2 separate regions of the Homo sapiens genome follow, and region 2 is linked to region 1. Evidence: promoter capture Hi-C in human tissues and cell types (Jung and others, 2019). All regions are on one chromosome and are shown on one strand. The core of a region is centred on a gene start or on the middle of the fragment in contact, and the rest is flanking DNA. Distances in the headings are between cores, read along the strand shown. Region 1 holds the start of MYLIP (myosin regulatory light chain interacting protein). Region 2 overlaps LOC105374945 (a long non-coding RNA gene).

Region 1 (6,856 bases), core at 131-2,630:
TTACAAAGTTCAATGGTGTTACAATTCCTGATCTAAACTGGAAAAACAAAGTTCCACGGCTCCAATGATACCAAACCACGAGCTCTAGTATGGAGGCTCATAATTCCTTTTAACGTCTAGGGCATGACCAATTGCAATAGAGAAAAAAGGAGTCCTCAAAAGTAGCCTTCCAAAAGATGAGGAGGGGAAACTACAGGGTATTTTCCTTCGTATTCCAATCACCGGAATTCCCTCCACCAGCATACTCTGCACAGCTGATTTTTGGCGACTTATTATCTGGGCAATTTTAACCATTTGGACTCCAAAAATCAAACACATTGAGGGAACACGCCACAAGTGTCAGCTAAGCTTCACAAGCGGTTTTCCAAACATCTCAGAGCTAGAGGGGTTGAGGGCACAGCGTTTTCCTGGGATCACATGTGCTGTCTGCCATACCACCTCTGCACTATTTGGCACCGATCTCCCTCACTGTTAAGGAAACACATGCTTAAAAACAACCGAGCAGTAGATGACCCAAACCTATTCCTCCCGTCCCCCGCAAACCCGGAGATGCAGGTGAACGGTGCATTTGAGAGCAGCAGCCTGAGAAGCAGCGTGAGACAAGGGCCCGGCTTGTCTGCCAAGAACCCCTGGGGCCCGAGACTGCTTCGAGCCACTCCATCCCATCCTGGCACGCGGGTGGCACTGCCAGGCGCCGCGGGGACCCGACAGGCGGCATCACGCACATACCTGCGGCAGGTGTGCGGAGCCGCCTTCTTCCGGGAAAGTGCTGGGTTGGGGGGATGATGGGGCGCTGGGGGGTGGATCCCGGCTGCGGGCTGCGCCCGGCCCTCAGCGCTGGGGACCCCCGCTGCGCGCTTTCTCCGCGCACCCCACGCGCGCCAGGAGGAGACCGCGCGCCCCACGCCCGTGGAGAGGAGGGGACGCGCTCCCCCCGGCTGCCGCCGCAGTGCCTCCCGGCCCCTAGTAGGGGGCGCGCCAGAGTGCCAGGCGTCGCTGCGAGGCCCCTCGGCCTCGCGGGACCCGCCGGGGCCCCTTCTTGCCCCTCGCCCTCACCTGGTTGAGGCAGTCCTCGCCGTTGGCTTTCGCCTCCACCTCCACCTCCATCAGCACCGCGTCCGGCCTCGTCACATAACACAGCATGGCTGGGGCTGCCGCTGCCGCCACAGCCGCCTTCTCTTTGGTGTGCGCGGGGCTGCCGCCTTGTCACTGGTGGGACCCAGCCCCGGACTCGGAGAGGGCTGGCCCTCGAAGGCTGCAGCTCTGCGGACCCTTGTCCGGGGCCCCGCGGCCGCCACTCGCGTCCCCGCCACCCCCTCACCCGCTGCCCGCCAGCTGCCCCTGTCCTCCGCGGTGGCGCCGCACTCCAGCAGCCCAACTGCCTGCGCTGCGACAGGGACTCTGCTGATATAGCGGCCCCGCCCCCTTCAGCTCGGGTCCCCGCCAATCACGGCCTCCCTGCCCCTCCTCCCCCGCCCGATCAGCCAATAGCGGCGCCCCTCGACCGCGGCCCCCGCCTCCCAGAGCCGGCTGAGTTTCCCTGGCCGCCCCGGGAGGTGGCAGCTTGCGGGCGCCGAGTGCTGCGGGAAGGGAGGGAGACCCCGGAACACACCAGCCGCCTCTGTCCGCTGGGCGACGCTGCTCAGAGTGAGCGATCGCCCGGGGCTCCAGGCGGGGACGCCTTTCTGCCGTCTCGAATTTACGGTGATTAAACACCTCCAAGCTGCCACTGTTCTTCAAATATCTTGGATCACTCTGAGCACGCATTTCGGTTGTGAAAGCAAAAAGGAAAAGGAGCAACCCAAAGCCTAAAGAAAACTGTTCTCGTCCGGGCATGGTGGCTCACGCCTGTAATCCCAGCACTTTGGGAGGCCGAGATGGGTGGATCACCTGAGGTCAGATTCGAGACCAGCCTGGCAAACATGGTGAAACCCCCGTCTCTACTAAAAATACAAAAAAAAAAACAAAATAGCCAGGCGTGGTGGCGGGCACCTGTAATCCCAGCTACCTGGGAGGCTGAGGCAGGAGAATCGCTTGAACCCAGGAGGCGGAGGTTGCAGTGAGCTGAGATTGTGTCACTGCACTGTAGCTTGGGCAAGAAGAGCAAAAAACCCTGTCTCAAAAAAAAAAAAAAAAAAAAAAAAAAAAAGAAAAGAAAAAGAAAAAAGAAAAAAAAAAGAGAAAAAGAAAACTCTTTTCCACCAGGATTAGCCACAGTGGGTTGCTTGGAGGCAGAATTGTTGTTCCTTATTAAGACCTCATCATTGAGAAAAACAAAATCTGAGTATGAAAGTTTTTGCAGCTGACCAGTGAGCCAGGTGTCTTGGTCTAGTGCTGGTGTGTTACACTCCGGAAGGGCTTCTCCTTACTCGTTCTGCTGAATCAAAACGCCTTACAGGGTACCAGGCCCTCTCTCAGGTTGCTCATTCTACCTCCTGTCTTATCTCACTCATTCATTAAACATTTGTGCAGCACCTGATACCCTGCCTGTCCCTTCTCACAGGCAACCAGATGTTGTCCTCGTCTTAAGGTAAGGTGCTCATCTCCTGACCTAACAGGTGGCATTACTGCAATATTAGCTATTAAAGGTCTACAACCCTTCACTCATTTACCGCTTGTTCCTCTTTGCCAATATATTACATAGCCTACCTTTTTGATTTCTTTATAGGAGCCAGATGATGTGGGTTTCAGCCGTGGAAACTTAGCAAACTTACTTCAGGCCAGCTCGATGGCTCACACCTGTAATCCCAGCACTTTTGGAGGCCGAGGCAGGAGGATCGCCTGAGCCCAGCAGTTTGAGACCAGCCCGGTTTCGCAACACAGCGAAACCCCATCTCTACACAAAATACAAAAAATTAGCCAGGCGTGGTGGCGCCTGCCTGTAGTCTCAGCTACATGGGAGGCTGAGGTGGGAGGATCACTTGAGCCTGGGAGTTCGAGGCTGCAGTGTGCTGTGATCCCCCTACTGCACTCCAGCCTAGGCGACAGAGCAAAAGACCCTGTCTCTAAACAACAACAACAACAAAAAGAAAACAACGAAAGAAAAAAAAAGAGAAAACTTACTTCATCTGTCTGAAGCTTGGTGTTGTCAACAGTAAAATGGAGATGGCAATATCTGCTCTGTCTCCACCCAGCATTGTTGGGAAGCGCAGCAAAGATAATAACGTTCACAAAAGCATTTGAATGTCCCCGTGTATGTAAGGGGAGCTATAAGTTCAGTGCCTTCACTGCTTAATGATGACTTTTCCTGTCCCTACCCCCCTTCACGAGTCCCAAGGATCTGTTAGTGGCCTTTATTTCCGAACAACCAGGTACGATATCAGAGCCCAAGGCTAAAAAAAAAGGAGGGATCCTCCCACACACAGTTCTTTGCTAAAGCTGACCGAGTAAAACTGTAAACTGTCCAAGTCCTAACCCCCACTGTTGCAGAGGAACAGGTGCACTCTCACATCTTTCTGTCTTATAAATACACCTCATGCTATTGTGGGCTGAAACAGTCCCTTCTTGTATTAACTGCAGTGCCTATTCCCTGAATTCCAGTTTACTAATAATCTGGGGAATTTATCTGGAAGATAGCGTTTGGTTCATTCCTTGTCTACTTTATGCTTAATTGCTAGAAGTTTCAGAAGAGGAAGAAGAGGCGAGGGGCAATAGGGAGACCAGTTATATTGGTTAGTATTTTTGTTTATGAACAATAGAAACTAAAGCTGGCTAACTGGAAACTCATAGAATCAATGGGACCAGGTGTGGAAATGAGTAGAACGGGAAAATATTGGTTGGCCAAGAAAAAAAAAATAAACAAAAATAAAACAAGCAAACACCCAAACCAAATACCCACTTTGTGGACTACTTTAAAAATAACTTATATTTTTGGTTTTAGCAGGGATTTTTCTTTTGCAAGTATGATTTCATTGTTTTTTTAAAAAATCTAAGCTTGTAAAATAGTTTGTAGAAGCATAGGTAAAATCTGACATGTTTATTTTATTTAAAACTTTTTGGCCAGGCGTGGTGGCTCATGCCTGTCATCCCAGAGCCCTGGGAGGCCGAGGCAGGCAGATCCCTTGAGCCCAGGAGTTTGAGATCAGCCTGAGCAAAATGGCAAAACCCCATCTCTACTAAAAATATAAAAAATTAGCCAGGCATGATGGCATGTGTCTGTAGTCCCAGATACTCAGCGTGCTGAGGTGGGAGGATGGCTTGAGTCCAGAAAGTCCAGGCTTCAGTCAATCATGATCTCACCACTGCACTCCAGCTTGGCCGAAGGGAGTGAGACCCTTTCTCAAACAAAACAAAAAACAAACAAAACCCCACATTTTTCATAGTTTTGTTGTTGTTGTTGTTGTTGTTTAGACAGAGTTTTGTTCTTGTTGCCCAGGCTGGAGTGCAATGGCATGATCTTGGCTCACTGTAGCCTCCGACTCCCTGGTTCAAGCAATTCTCCTACCTTAGCCTCCCGAGTAGCTGGGATTATAGGCACGCGCCCCCACACCCGGCTAATTTTTTGCTTTTTTAGTAGAGACAGGGTTTTGCTATGTTGGTCAGGCTGGTCTCGAACTCCTGACCTCAAGTGATCTGCCCGCCTTGGCCTCCCAAAGTGCTGGGATTACAAGTGTGAGCCACCGCCCCGACCTATTTTTAACAATTGTCATTTGCACAATAGTTGGAAGTAGAAGATTTACAAGAATTTTTTTTTTTTAATTTTTTTTCAGAGACAGAGTCTTGCTCTGTTGCCAGACTAGAGGGCAGGCAGTGATGTGAAAATAGCTCACTGCGGCCTTGAACTCCTGGGCTCAAGCAGTCTTCCCGCATCAGCCTCCAGCGTAGCTGGGACCACAAGCAGGTGCCACGACACCCAGTTAATTTTTGTATTTTTTTGTAGAGATGGGTGTCTCGCTATGTTGCTCAGGTTGGTCTCAAACTCCCGGGCTCAAGCGACCCTCCTGCCTCTGCCTCCCAAAGAGTTGGGATTACAGGTGTGAGCCACTGTGCTCGTGACAGGGATATTTCTAATCCAAACCCAGATAGTGCTTCTGCTATAGGATGGTTGGTGAAGATTTCAATTGTTTTGAAATTAAGAATCCCCAGATAAGACTGAAGAGAAGGATTTCTTAAAACAAAAACAAAGCTAAAAATAGGAAAATGGCACTTGGGGGTGGGAGGGGCGGGCAGTAAGAAATCCTTATGACTGGGAAGCAAAAAAAAAAAAAAAAAAAAATACTGGCTTCCCACTAGCATGTATGGAATATACTGGACCATGACCCCTCTCTCTCCTCGCTTTCTCTCTCTGTCTTTTCTCTCCATCTCTGTTTTGTAATTTATTCCTTGAGTAGAGCTAAGGAGAGACTGGTTAGTTACAGAATGAGGAGGCTGAGTGAGCTGGTGAGAAAGCACATTATGCTCAAAAGACCTGGTTAGGGAATAGAAAACCCGCAGTAGAATTACTTCCTCGAGGATTCCACCATCTGCTAATGCTGCTGAATGTCTGGAGCCAGTTTCAAGCCCCAGCTGGGTCTAACTCCAAATAAGAGACTCTGAACACCCAGGGTGGGAACTATATTAGATTGAGCAGTGATTGAAGCCAGAGAGATGCCCAAGTTATCTGTGTCTGCTCTCTTTTTCTCTCAATTAGCTCTCATCTTTTAAAGATAGCATTAAAATTAACCAGCATAGTGGAAAAAAAAAGGTCAGCTGTATGAATATAGAATTTAAAAATAGAAACCATAACTAGGCGGTAGAGTTGGCTAACCCAGTGGAGTTCTAGCTGTTCAGACACACCCAAGCACCACAGATTTTCTCTGTCTCACATACTAGGGCTCAAGACTGAGCACTAGATGGTATTTGTGTGGATGTGATGATCATTTGGCTGCAAAATCTTCCTTCTAATTGAGCACTGGGTCTGATCTGGATGGCTGGGTACCTATCTCTGTGCATTGCATTCTCAACACTGCGTGCACTGCTGCAGAAACCCTATGCTGGGTCTCCAGAGAAGGACAGCCTTCATCACCTGCCACACCCTTCTCTCTGCCTCTCAACGTTCATTTGTAGAAGCACTGAGGGAAGAACAATTAGTGACTGCCTAAGAAAACCGTCATTTTGCTTTCACACATTATTCAAGCTAATGGTTCACATAAGTAACACTTCATCAAGCACAAGTATGTTAGAATATGTCAAATGAGCTGAAATCTCTCATTTGAAATATTAGGCTTGTGAAATTCAGGAGTAGTTTAATTTGATCCTGGCCTACCATCAAACCAGAACATCTCATTTCTGAAACTGGCTGTTTGAAGAGAAAAAGAAGGAATGAAGCAGGAATAGGCAGCACTCATGTTAAAAACTCTGGGAGATCTGAAACGGCATTGTTTTAATTAGCAGGCAGTTAAAAAAATTCTAGTTATGAGAGTTACTGTTCATTGCAGAATACTTGGAAAAGACAGAAAAGTATAAGGCAAAAAATGAAGTACCTATAATTTTATCAGACATTTCTATTTAGTATTGATGTTTCACTGTTATATTTTGCATATGATGGGCTCTAAATATTGACCATGTTATAATCAAATACTGCATGTTAATTTCCAGAAATATATTAAGAGAGCAAGAGAGACTTGGATGCAGAGTTCCAAATCTACACCTGGTATTATGACTATTAGGAAAGTTATAACCAGAAAGAACAACAACCACACAAAAATAATTCCAACTGTTACTGTTTCTCAGTTCTCTTCTTTTCTTCTCTGGACTACTAACCTTTCTTACGTTTGTCTTCTTTCTCACTACTAAGATGCCCCGAAAGGTCACATTTTGTGATATACTTACTTGTTCAGCATACGTCACTTCATTGAGAGATGCTCAGAGCTGGGAG
Region 2 (6,856 bases), core at 1,974-4,473, 1.2 Mb after region 1:
TTGGCTTTATTGAAGAAGATACTAGGAGATCTAAGGGTTCTACTTGGCCTTGGAGGGAGACTGAGAACCAGAGAACAATGAGTAAGGATGGGCTCTGGTGTGAAGCCTGATATCCTCCTGCTTAGCACAAAAAGAAATTGTCACCTTTTCTTTGGAGCAGCAGAATTAAGTTTGGCCCAGTGAGATGGAGGCTCTCAGGTAACTGCAGCGGGCCAGAAGGGTGGGGAAACTGGGTGAGATGGACACATCTTGCCTCACAGTGATCCCACGGGAGGGGAGGAATTCAGGACCATGGGTTGGTTCCTCTTGTCTCCGGCCCCTGGGGGGGACGTGTATTAGTTTGTTTTCATGCTGCTGATAAAGACATGCCCGCGACTGGGAAGAAAAAGAGGTTTAATTGGATTTACAGTTCCACATGGCTGAGGAGGCCTCAGAATCATGACGGGAGGTGAAAGGCACCTCTTATATGGCAGCGGCAAGAGAAAATGAGGAAGAAGCAAAAGTGGAAACCCCTGATAAACCTGTCAGATTTCGTGAGACTTATTCACTGTCACAAGAATAGCATGGGAAAGACCAGCCCCCATGATTCAATTACCTCCCCCTGGGTCCCTCCCACAACATGTGGGAATTCTGGGAGATACAATTCAAGTTGAGATTTGGGTAGGGGCACAGCCAAACTATATCAGGACCCTACTTCCCTGGGGAGCTCTGCTGTAGCACATATCCCCTTAAACCAGGGGTGTGCTGAAGGCAACGCATTTTGGCTTAAGAGAGTTGATTAGAATTTTGTGAGCCAGTTGTTAAACACACCTATTATTATAAATTAAACTATAGTCTGGGTGTGGTGGCTCATGCTTGTAATCCCAGCACTTTGGGAGGCTGAGGCAGATGGATCACTTGAGCTCAGGAGTTTGAGATGAACCTGAGCAACATGATGAAACTCCGTTTCTACTAAAAATACAAAAATTAGCCTGGCCTGGTGACACGTGCCTGTGGTTCTAGCTACTGGGGAGGCTGAGATGGGAGGATCACTTGACCCTGGGAGGTGGACGTGGAGGCGGAGGCGGAGGTTGCAGTGAGCCAAAACTGCACCACTGCACTCCTGCCTGGGTGACAGAGTGAGACCACATCTCAAAAAACAAACAAACAAATATATATGTATGTATGTCTTACATGAACTTATACTAAATAAATTATAAAACTAAATAAGTGAACTTACAACTAAATAAATTAGATTAAAGTAAATATAATAAATACTCAAAAGTCATCACTTCCCAGGTGTTTTGCTGTTTCTTTCTTTTCTTTTCTTTTTTTCTTTGAGACAGAGTCTCACCTGACACCCAGGCTGGTGCGCAACGGCACAATATTAGCTCACTGCAACCTCCGCCTCCAGGATTCAAACAATTCTCCTGCCTCAGCCTCCTGAGTAGCTGGAATTACAGGCACCTGCCACCACACCCAGCTAATTTTTGTATTTTTAGTAGAGACGGCGTTTCACCATGTTAGCCAGGCTGGTATCAAACTCCTGACCTCATGATCCGCCCGCCTTGGCCTCTCAAAGTGCTGGGATTACAGGCATGAGCCACCGCGCCCAGCCTGTTTAGCTATTTGTTTTGTTTTGTTTTGTTTTTTGAGATGGAGTCTCGCTCTGTCACCCAGGCTGTAGTGTGGTGGCGCGATCTCGGCTTACTGCAAGCTCCGCCTCCTGGGTTCACGCCATTCTCCTGCCTCAGCCTCCCAAGTAGCTGGGACTACAGATGCCCGCCACATGCCCGGCTAATTTTTTTTTGTATTTTTAGTAGAGACAGGGTTTCACCGTGTTAGCCAGGATGGTCTTGATCTCCTGACCTCGTGATCCTCCCGCCTCGGCCTCCCAACTATTTTTTATTATCTATGCTCTAGAAGCTCTTTATGACTATTGTCACTGTACGGTGGTCTTATGGGTTCATTTGTGTTCCCTCCCTCCACAAATTCATATGTTGAAGTCCTAACCCCCAGTATCTCAGAACGTGACCTTATCTGGAAAGAGGGTTGTTGAAGATGTAATTAGTTCAGATGAGGTCATTAGGGTGGGGCCCTAGTCCAATATTACTGGTGTCCTTATAAAAAGAGGAAGTTTGGGCACAGAGAAATATGCACGCAGGGAGGATGTCACGTGAAGATGAAGGCAGAGATTGGGGCGATGCAGCAGAAGCCAAGAATCGCCCAACACGGCAGCAAACCATCAGGAGCTGGGAGAGACACAGGGAACAGATTTTCCCTCGGGGCTCACAGAAGGAGCCCCCCTTGCCCACACCTTCAACTTGGACTTGCAGTCTCCTGAACCGTGGAACAATGAATTTCTGTTGTTTGAGGCACTTGGTTTGTGGCACCTTGTGATGGCAGCCCTAGGAAACTCACACCAGTAGAAATATGACATTAGATTTCTACAAGCTGGTGAACACCACCTCCCCATACTCCTCGTGCAGTGACTTTGCATTGTTAGCTTGAAATAGCCACAGCAACTGATTTGTAAACAAACGCTACAAATCAGGCTGGATTTATTGTCTCATTGGTTGTCTAGACAAGGGGTTGGGAACTACAGCCTGTGGGCCAAATCTGGGCCCCCACTTGCTTTCATAAAAAGTTTTATTGGGACATAGCAGGGACGCTCTTTTGTGTTCCTGTTGTCGACGGCTGATTTGGCACTACAATGGCCCCGTTGAGTAGTTGTGACAGAGACCGAATAGCTCACAAAGTTAATATTTACTATCTGGCTCGTAAGAGTCAAATTTTATGGAACCCTTGGTCTAGACTTAAGGAAGTGAGGGAGATAATATTAAACATACAGATAAAACTTTAAAGTCTGCCTATCAATAGCCATTACTTTGTGAATGACACAAAAAAATTTGAGAAAATCTTCCTCCAGTCTTTGACAACTGTATCTGATTCTGTAAAGGAGTTGTTCCTATCATTGACGAATGAGTGGAATTCTGACACAGATCTTAGTTGTTTCACTTTCCTGTTGTTTACATAAATGAAAATAGCAACCAACAGCCATCCCAGAACTATACTTGTTCATCAGTTGCCACACTGGTTGGCTACAGAGAAGAGAGTTTGTCAAAAATCAATGGAAGTTGCTGGGTGTGGTGACTCATGCCTGTAATCACAGCACTCTGAGAGGCTGAGGCAGGAGGATGGGGCAGGAGTTCGAGACCAGCCTGGGCAACATAGTGAGACCCTGTCTCTGGTTATTATATTTAAAAATAAAAATAAGTAAAATAAAAATCAATGAAAGCATACATAAGAAACAATTGGCTATATGGAATTTACCAGATTGTGTGTATCATATAGCAGTAAAGTTTATAATAAACCTATGTGTTTACATCTACATATGCACACATTTTCTCTCCTGGAGAGCCACTTATTAAACTTTTATCAGCACGCCACTTCACCTAACCTCTGTGCGACACCTGCAGCTGGGCAGAGGACACATAGTTTGTGGGGCTGTTGCCATATGACTCTGGCCTTGGCTTGGTTTCACCACCATGCTGCCTAAGGGAGCACAGTTGGTAGAAACAACTGCGGTAGGAAGGCCCAGTGGCACGAAGGAACTGGGCTTGGCTACTCCCTGCCCTGGGGGATGGACAGTACGTACCAAGCTTCAGGGGTGAAGCAGGCCTGCTGATGAAGGGGTGCCAATGCAAATCCGAGGTTGGACTTGCTCCCACCAGTGATAGAAGTCCTTCAGCAAGGGAACAACAGGGTGACAGGCCTGATTTAAGAAGCCAGATTTGGTAACAATGTGAAGGACAGATTGGATGGGAACAACCAGCTCTGGGGCTGTCACAATCTGTGGTTTAGTAAACAGAGCTCAGAAAGTCCATGGCTCTGCCCTAGGCATGTTTTTTGGCATTTGTAAAAAAGGCTTGCAAAATGTTAAGAAATGGGATCCTTGCTTGACTGTAGAAGTCTCAATGGAACCCCAGAGCCTACAAAACAGAAAAATAGAAAAGCAATTCTGAAAAGCTTTGCCAAATGGCTGTCATGTGGCTTTCTACCATCCCTCTGTTGCTTTCTAGGTGCCTATTAGAAATGAAGAAATAGTTTGGCAGCGACCTTCCCTTGAAACAAGCAGTTATGGATGGAGGGCCTTGATTTGAAACTAAGACTGTGCATTTGCAGTAACTTGACAAGGCTCTTGGGTTCCATGGAGAATATATTGGGTGGGGCCGCCCACAGCACCTTGGGTTCATCTCTAGCAGGGCATGTCAACTCTTACCTGGTCTTCCCAGCCCGTGACGGCAGATGCCGGGACAGTTGCTCACCACATAGCAAAAGCTGCTCATGACATTGCAAACCCCTCACTACCCAGCAAGGCAATGACTTTAGTCAGTATCCTGTCCTCAGGATGGTCTTCTTACAGCTGCTTCTTTCCCCCAAGCCCAGGTTTGATTTTAGGTGGGAAGGATTTAAGAAACTTTAACTTAGGCCAGGTGTGGTGGTTGACACCTGTAAACCCAGTACATTGAGAGGTTGAGGCGGGATGATTGCTTGAGCCCAGGAATTCAAGACCAGGCTGGGCAACATAGTAAGACCCTGTCTCCCTCTGAAAAAAAAAAAAGAAACTGCAATTTGTTGCTCTGCCATCTGGCATGCAGCCCCGGACTTGTCCGCTACATCGGGTTCAGAACTGGCTGCTGGTCTGGAGCGTTTCTCCCAGTGTGGGGCTGGTCAGGTCTGCCTGTTCCTGGGGTCCCTGCTCAGTGTTACAGATGCCCTAGGACAGGGGTGCAGCCTGGTTCGTGGCAGTCCTCCTGTGGCCTTCAGAAATGGATCCTCACTCCGGGTTCCCAACCCACTGGGCTTGTAACTTGCTGACAAATATTCAGATAACTGCCTGTCTGCATGCATTTGTTCAGTCAGGATACTGACTGACATCACTGACTTGCTGGGTGGTGAGGGCTTATTGCTAGAATTTTCTTTTCTCCACTCAGCACTGGACTTCAGATATGTGGTGGAAAAGACAGTGACTTTGGAATCAGCCAGATTCAGCTAAACTCTATGTTTTGCTGAAAGGTAGCTGTGTGGTCTTGGGCAAATAAGTTAACCTCTCTGAGCCACGGTTGCTTTTCTGTAAAAAGGAGGGTCAGACTGTCTGTGTCAGGTTGTTCTGAGGATTAAAAGAGATGACATAGGTAGAGAGACACCTCAATGTGCAGTGCTTGTCGGTTATCTGTTAGATAATACAGATAGTATCGTAGATATTAGCTAATACCAATGAGATCTGTTTGCTAGGATGTTCTTCAAATGCGACTGGAGATCTGTTTGCTAGGATGTTCTTCAAATGCATATTCTGATTCGGTTGCTCTAGAGCTGGGCCTGAGATGCTGCATCTTTAACAAACCCCCAGATGATGCCGATGCTGCTGGCCCCAGACCACACTCTGAATAGTGAGATGTGACATTGACCTTGGCTTCCTTCCTCGCACCTGCAGCCTCCAACTCCTGCCTTATCCCAGAGGGAAGCTCTTACTTCAGGCCAGAGACCCATGATCCTCCTTCTCCTAAGTCATCACCTAGCCTTGTCAGGAGATAAGTCCCCTGACTTCCGTAAGTCAGGCGAACTAATGTCAGAGGAGGGAGAAATGAAACGTGAGTGTGTGTGGTGGGGAATTTACAATTACAACAATCGAGGTGGGCAGATCACTTGAGGTCAGGAGTTCGAGCCCAGCCTGGCAAACATGGCGAAACCCCATTTCTACTAAAAATACAAAAAAAAAAAGTTAGCCAGGCATGGTGGCGGGTACCTGTAATCCCAGCTACTCAGGAGGCTGAGGCAGGAGAATCACTTGAACCTGGGAGGCAGGGGTTGCAGTGAGCCTTATTGCACTCCAGCCTGGGAGACAGAGTGAGACTCTCTCAAAAAAATAAAAATAAGTAGAATTAGAACAATGAGCAGGATAGATGCAGTAACAAGCAGTCAGCAGGGGCAGGTGAGTGCAGCTCCATTCATTCCTAATATCTTAAGCACATCATGACTTAAAAAAACATTACGATGAATGAACCACAGAGAGCTGGGATGTGGAAAAATTTGGAGGGAGCTCATGGCTCTGTCCCTGAGCTGATATAAGATATGGAAAAGTTGCAAGAAAGAAGGCAAAAAACAATGTGCATGCTTATGTGGGTCTGTGCTCTATCCGGTTTTCATTCCTGGAAATGCACCTTTTCTTCTTCTATATTTTATTTTCATCACTGAATGCCTTTGTGTGAAACCTTTGGGTGCATGCCTCTCTTTCATCCAGATGTTCACACTCTCCTCCTTGAGGCCCAGCCTGAATGCCATGTCCTCTTACAGCCCTTAGTAGGGTAGTGAGTTTCTCCGAGCCATCCTGGTCCCACTGTGTCAAACTGTCCCAGTCACAGGAACCGCAGCAGCCCCCTGACTCTCCCCCAGCCCTGCTGGATCTCTCTAGTCCTGCCGGGCTTTCCCTCTGGGTGGGGACCAACAGGGAGTCGCTTAGTGTTTGAAAATGGCTGTGATGGCAATGGAGGCACCACCGCAGCTCCCCACAACAGACCCCACACTGTTGGTCTGGCCACTATAGTTGGGATTCTGTCTGCCTCCAGAAGGCCTCATGAATGAGGAACCTGTGTGACTTTTATCCTGTTCCTCTCCATCAGGCTCTGGGTTAGGGTGAGTGGGTGGGGATTACAATTCTTTCCCCCACACCAGGTCACAGCCTGCAATGGGACAGTGATAGAGCTTCGACTGACTCAGTTTTTAGCTCATCTCCGCCTTCTTAGGAAGATGGCTGTGGTCCAGAGGGAGCTGGCCGGGAAGTTTCTCATCCAGGGCTCTGCTGGCTCTTTAAGTG

Evidence for each region. The method cuts DNA at HindIII sites, captures the fragments that hold promoters and counts their contacts. A contact is called where the count stands out against the background at its distance.
Region 2: a fragment that was not itself captured here is called in contact with the fragment with the promoter of MYLIP in region 1 in 1 of the 25 tissues and cell types used here (lymphoblastoid cells).

Annotation. Positions count from the first base shown.
Region 1 is chr6:16,123,610-16,130,465 of GRCh38, reverse strand. It overlaps MYLIP (myosin regulatory light chain interacting protein), which reads right to left and starts at 1,380. Exons shown (of 7, transcript NM_013262.4): 1 at 1,057-1,380. The coding sequence starts at 1,143. RefSeq lists a silencer at 699-1,698. The HindIII fragment of the contact is 3,904 bases long and covers 1-3,506 here.
Region 2 is chr6:14,885,617-14,892,472 of GRCh38, reverse strand. All of the region lies in intron 2 of LOC105374945 (a long non-coding RNA gene), which reads left to right. Among named protein-coding and RNA genes, the nearest start is that of JARID2-DT, 360 kb to the left of the region's middle. RefSeq lists a silencer at 189-389. The HindIII fragment of the contact is 4,509 bases long and covers 969-5,477 here.